2 separate regions of the Homo sapiens genome follow, and region 2 is linked to region 1. Evidence: promoter capture Hi-C in 16 types of primary human blood cells and fetal thymus (Javierre and others, 2016). All regions are on one chromosome and are shown on one strand. Each heading gives the region's core, a stretch centred on a gene start or on the middle of the fragment in contact. The rest is flanking DNA. Distances are from core to core; before and after follow the strand shown.

The links. Contacts are between HindIII fragments. The CHiCAGO score rates a contact against its expected background, and 5 or more counts as called.
Region 2: the fragment with the promoter of GOLGA7B here is called in contact with the fragment with the promoter of SFRP5 in region 1 in 14 of 17 cell types (naive CD8 T cells, total CD8 T cells, non-activated CD4 T cells and 11 more); the score reaches 22.9 in naive CD8 T cells.

Annotation. Positions count from the first base shown.
Region 1 is chr10:97,770,585-97,773,284 of GRCh38, reverse strand. It overlaps SFRP5 (secreted frizzled related protein 5), which reads left to right and starts at 1,286. Exons shown (of 3, transcript NM_003015.3): 1 at 1,286-1,980. The coding sequence starts at 1,452. The HindIII fragment of the contact is 8,141 bases long and covers 626-2,700 here.
Region 2 is chr10:97,848,593-97,851,292 of GRCh38, reverse strand. It overlaps GOLGA7B (golgin A7 family member B), which reads right to left and starts at 1,450. Exons shown (of 5, transcript NM_001010917.3): 1 at 978-1,450. The coding sequence starts at 989. It overlaps GOLGA7B-DT (GOLGA7B divergent transcript), which reads left to right and starts at 1,495. Exons shown (of 3, transcript NR_108035.1): 1 at 1,495-1,627. The HindIII fragment of the contact is 7,033 bases long and covers 579-2,700 here.

The DNA.
Region 1 (2,700 bases), core at 37-2,536:
GGCTCTCAGGAAGGAATTCCCCTCCCTTCAAGCCTCCAGTCCAAATTCCTCTCAAGGGAGAGCCAATGAAAGGCAGGACTCAGACAGGAGAGAAAGACACCAAGCATGGGGCTCCTGAAGGTCCCCTCCCCTCTGATGCTTGCCTGGGTGCCCTGCTCAGACACACCATCAATTCCCCCTCTTCCCACTGTGTTCCCTACCATGGGTTGGAAGTTATCTTACCACAGAGTGGTTAAGCCCTGGCCTTTGTAGCCCAACATCTGGATTCAAATCCTAGCTCCTTCACATATGAGCTGTGTGGCCAAGGGCCAGTTACTCCACTTCTCTGAACTCCCTATCCCCTTGGTCATTAGGCCTACAGACTCAGAATCCAGGCCTCCTGGTTGTTTCTGGGCTCTGACTCTCGAAAAAGACTATCTGGGTTCAAATCCCAGCTCTAATCTGTGCTTAACCTCTCTGCCGCAGGATCTTTATCTGTAAGGTGGGGACAATAATAGTACCTACCCACCATCTAGCCTTATTGTGAGAATTAGCTGAGGGAGTTTATGCAATGTGCTCAGATCAGACTTGGCACACAATTAGCACCCACTAAGTATTGGCTATCATTAGCAATAGCTGATAAGCTTGGAACGTACCTTGCACCGCACCTTGCACCGCACCTTGCACCTTGCACCGTCCCTGGCAGGTAGTAAGAGCTCACTAAATAGAAGCTATGATTACCTTCACCCCCACTAGACTATCCTGGCCCTGGAGGTGGGTTCTGGGTCATATCCATCTTTGATTCCCCAGCAGCCAGCATGGGGCCTGGCACCAAGCTCAATGAAGACCTGCCAGGAGGACCAGAAGATCCAGGGTGTGGGGTGGCACGAGCCTCCCACCAGGGAGAAGAGGAACCGAGGTGTCGGGGAAGAGAAAACAGAGCAGAGGGAGAAAAGCCAAGGCAGAGAGATAAGCAAGTGAAGTGAGTGAGAAAAGGAACAGGAGAGGCTGTGGCGGAGAGAGATAAGGAGGAAGGATGGAGAAGGCGAGGGTCGAGGAAAATGCCCAGGGAGGCAGGGAGCCCTGGGGAGAAACGCTGGGCGAGGCCAGGGCTGCGGCAGGGGAGCCGAGCCGGGAGAGGGGCGCAAGACCTGGCGCTGGGCGGGACGCTCGGGCAGGGTGCGGGAGGGGCTGAGGGCCGCCCCCACTGCCTCCCCGCCTTGGAGCTGGGGCCAGGCGGCCGGAGATTGGCTGGGGCGCACGGCGAGGCCCGGGCTGGAGCCCCGAGGTGGGAGGCGCCAGGATCAGTCGGGGCGCCCGCAGCGCAGGCTGCCACCCACCTGGGCGACCTCCGCGGCGGCGGCGGCGGCGGCTGGGTAGAGTCAGGGCCGGGGGCGCACGCCGGAACACCTGGGCCGCCGGGCACCGAGCGTCGGGGGGCTGCGCGGCGCGCACCTGGAGAGGGCGCAGCCATGCGGGCGGCGGCGGCGGGGGGGGGCGTGCGGACGGCCGCGCTGGCGCTGCTGCTGGGGGCGCTGCACTGGGCGCCGGCGCGCTGCGAGGAGTACGACTACTATGGCTGGCAGGCCGAGCCGCTGCACGGCCGCTCCTACTCCAAGCCGCCGCAGTGCCTTGACATCCCTGCCGACCTGCCGCTCTGCCACACGGTGGGCTACAAGCGCATGCGGCTGCCCAACCTGCTGGAGCACGAGAGCCTGGCCGAAGTGAAGCAGCAGGCGAGCAGCTGGCTGCCGCTGCTGGCCAAGCGCTGCCACTCGGATACGCAGGTCTTCCTGTGCTCGCTCTTTGCGCCCGTCTGTCTCGACCGGCCCATCTACCCGTGCCGCTCGCTGTGCGAGGCCGTGCGCGCCGGCTGCGCGCCGCTCATGGAGGCCTACGGCTTCCCCTGGCCTGAGATGCTGCACTGCCACAAGTTCCCCCTGGACAACGACCTCTGCATCGCCGTGCAGTTCGGGCACCTGCCCGCCACCGCGCCTCCAGGTAGCGCCGCCGCCGCCGTCCCCGCGCGCTCCGACGGCCCTGCAGCTCCCCTAGCACAGCTCTGCGAACCCCCCAAGAGGTGCAGCTCCCCCCCTCCGCCCACACACACACACACACGCTGTCCTAGCTCAGCCCAGCGTCCCCGGAATTATCCCCCGCAGCCTTCCCGCCTTCCCACCTCCCCAGGGAGTGGCAGCATAGTGCCTCCCGGCGGCTCCAGACCTTCCCTCTGGCTCTCGTTCCCTGGAAACCCCTGGCACCCCTCTCAGTACCCATCCAACCAAGCTGCTGAGAATCCCCCAATGCCGTCCCCCCAATCCTGGGACGTCCTGATAAATGCCTTATGACCCCTCTCAGCCCAAGAATGCCTGGGGTCGTTAAACAATGCCTTTCACCTGGATCCCGAGGCACCAAAGCAAGCATCATCCCCACTCCGTGTTGGGACCTTGGGAAGAGAGGAGAGGTGAGGGAAGGGATGTGGAGAAAGACTGGGGACTAAGAATGTTCTGGACTATGATCTGCGTCCCCGTTTTCTGTACCTGGAACCCTAAGATCTCCACCCTCTTCCCCAGTTCCCCTGGCTGGGAGTCATTCGGGTAAGGCTCAGTGCGGAAGGAAGAGCAGATTAGGCTCTGCCCCTGAAGAGAAGCCCTTAGGCAAGTTGCTTGACTTCACTGAGCCTCAGTTTCCCCATCCATAAAATAGGAAGCCATCCCAGGC
Region 2 (2,700 bases), core at 201-2,700, 78 kb before region 1:
TGCCAGCTGGATTGGAAATGGGGAGACACCACAAAGGAAGTCAACATCAGAACTGGGGAGACCCTGATGTCCTGAGTTTCGCTCCAAAAATTCAAAGGCAAAAACTTTCCGCTCTGCTGCTGACATGCTGTGTGGAGTAGCAAATTAGTCCTTTCGTTTTCCACACATCACCTTTATCATGTATAAAGTGGGAACATAAAGAGCCCAATCTCCCTCCTGAAATGAGGGGGGAAAGGGCAATCCCTAGGGGTAGAGGGGGGAATCCTCGACCTCAAGCATTATACCAAGATTCTGCCCTTAGCTAACAGGCCCCGTGGTTCAGCCTTCAAGTGCTTGAAGGTGACACACCTATCAGTGCACCTTGAAGAAGGCAGAAACTCCCATCAGATGGAGGGGAAATCTGGACACCCTGGGACAAAAAAAAAAAAAAAACTCGAATGGGGTAAAAAAGCAAGAAGGGTGATATGCAAAAGTGGAGACCAACCATTTGGGTTCTCAGCCTGAGGATGTCTTTGTCCCCTCCCTCCCGCAAAGGAAATGCGGATGTAGAGGTAAGTCTGTCATCCCTTAGCCAAGCTTTTGGGTTCAGAAGCTGACTGCATAGCAACAGCGGACAGCCGCCTTCCCTCCCCTCACACACGCACACACACGCGTCTCCAACCCTCTAGGAAAGCGGTTTCAGGACTTGTGAAGTCCAGGGAAGGGGAAACCCCAGCCTGGGGCCCTGAAGCAACCCTGGCGCTAATGCCAACAAGTGTCGCGGACAGCTTGGGGGCTCAGGTGGGGCGAGGGGAAGATTGACACGCAAGGGGGAGATGAGCCCTCACTAAGCCCCTACCTCCTCCCTCCAGACCTGACCTGGGGAATCACCCCATCCCACCCCCAACTCCCGCCTCCCACTCCTGCCCAGCCCACCCCTAGGGCATTTGGTCCCGCGGCAATCGGGCACTGCCTGCGGGTGGGGCGCTCGCCCCTACCTCGGTGGCCATGATCCGGGGGCGCTCGGAGGCTGTCGCGGGGCCGGGCGAGGGGGGTCTCCGCGGTGCTGACCCCGGGAGCAGGTGGGCGGCGGCGGTGGCGGCGAGCTGGGGCCCGGGGCGCTGTCCGCAGTGCTGATGCGGGCGCCGCGGGCCCGGGCTCAGGTGGGCCGGGGGCGGGCGGGCGGCTGGGTCCAGGCAAGGGGCGCGGCGCTGTCCGCTGTGCTGAGGCAGGCGCCGGGCCCGGGAGGCGAGGCCGCGCCCGAGGCTCCTCACGGCCCGATCGCCCGCTGCCGCGGCTCCTGCAGGCAACGGCCGGGTTTAGCTTTGGCGGCGGCGGCGGCGGGGATGGGGGCGGCCGGGGGAGGAGGGGCCAGGAGCCGCCGCTGGCCGGGAGGGGGAAGCCGCGGCCCCCAGACTCCGGCGCCGCCGGAGAGGAGCCCCGCCCGGGCCACAGGCTCGGCTACCGCCCCGCGCGAGGCCCCGCCTCCCCTTCCTGCCCTCCCCCTCGTGAGAGCCCCGGAGCTCTGCGCTCGCTTCCGTGGCCCCCGGGACATCCAGCCTGAAGGACAGTGGGGCAGGAATTTTTCCGGGGCAAGACGCTTCAGCCTGCAAGGCTGACCGCTCCCGAGCCGCTCGCAGGCCCGCAGGTGAGGCCTCTCTACCTTTCCAGCCACCCCCAGTGCCCCGGCTCTACCCCTCCCTCGCCCCGCCCCCAGCTTCCTCTTTAGAATAATTTCTTTTCTTTCTCTCCCTTTTCCTCTCTGTGTGCCCCCCCCCCATATACACACAGTCAGGCTTGCACGGACGGCCCCTCTTTTCCCCTCTCCTTTGCACTTCCTGGAACCCCACTAGCTAGACAAAGATCCTGCCGACCGCAGAGAATCATTTCCTTTCTTTAAATACGTGCCCACATTTCGTTCTCAGCCATAGCCTGGGGTCCCTTCTTTCAGGCAGCTCCAGAATTGAAGCCAGTCTCTCCTTGCTGCTCTTCCTGGACCTGGTCCCCACCCTTTACTCTTCCCTCTCTCCTCTGCAACCCGAGTTTACATACACGCACCACCACTACCACCACCACTCAAAAACCACAAGCAGATGGTGCCAAACCGGTATGCTCACTCTCCAAGGATGGCAGGTCTGGCTCTGGTGCCACCTTCGCACTTTTGACATCATAAATTCCAACTAAATGATCTATTTGTTTAATAAAAAGGAGACCAGGTGCAGTGGCTCACACCTGTAATCCCAACACTTTGGGAGGCTGAGGTGGGAGGATTGCTTGAGCCCAGGAGTTCAAGACCAGCCTGGGCAAGACCCTGTCTGCACAAAAAATGAAAACATTAGCCGGGCGTTGTGATGTGTGCCTGTGGTCCCAGCTACTCAGAAGGCTAAGGCAGGAGAATCACTTGAATCCAAGAGTTCAAGGCTGCAGCTAGCCATGATTGTGCCACTGTACTCCAGCCTGGGCAATAGAGCAAGAGCCTGTCTCTTAAAAAAATAAAAATAAGGCCGGAAGCAGTGGCTCATACCTGTAATCCCAGCACTTTGGGAGGCCGAGACGGGTGGATCACCTGAGGGCAGAAGTTCAAGACCAGCCTGGCCAACATGCTGAAACCCCATCTCCACCAAAAATACAAAAAAAAATTAGCCAGGCATGGTGGCACCCGCCTGTAGTCCCAGGTACTCAGGAGGCTGAAGCAGGAGAATTGCTTGAACCCGGGAGGCA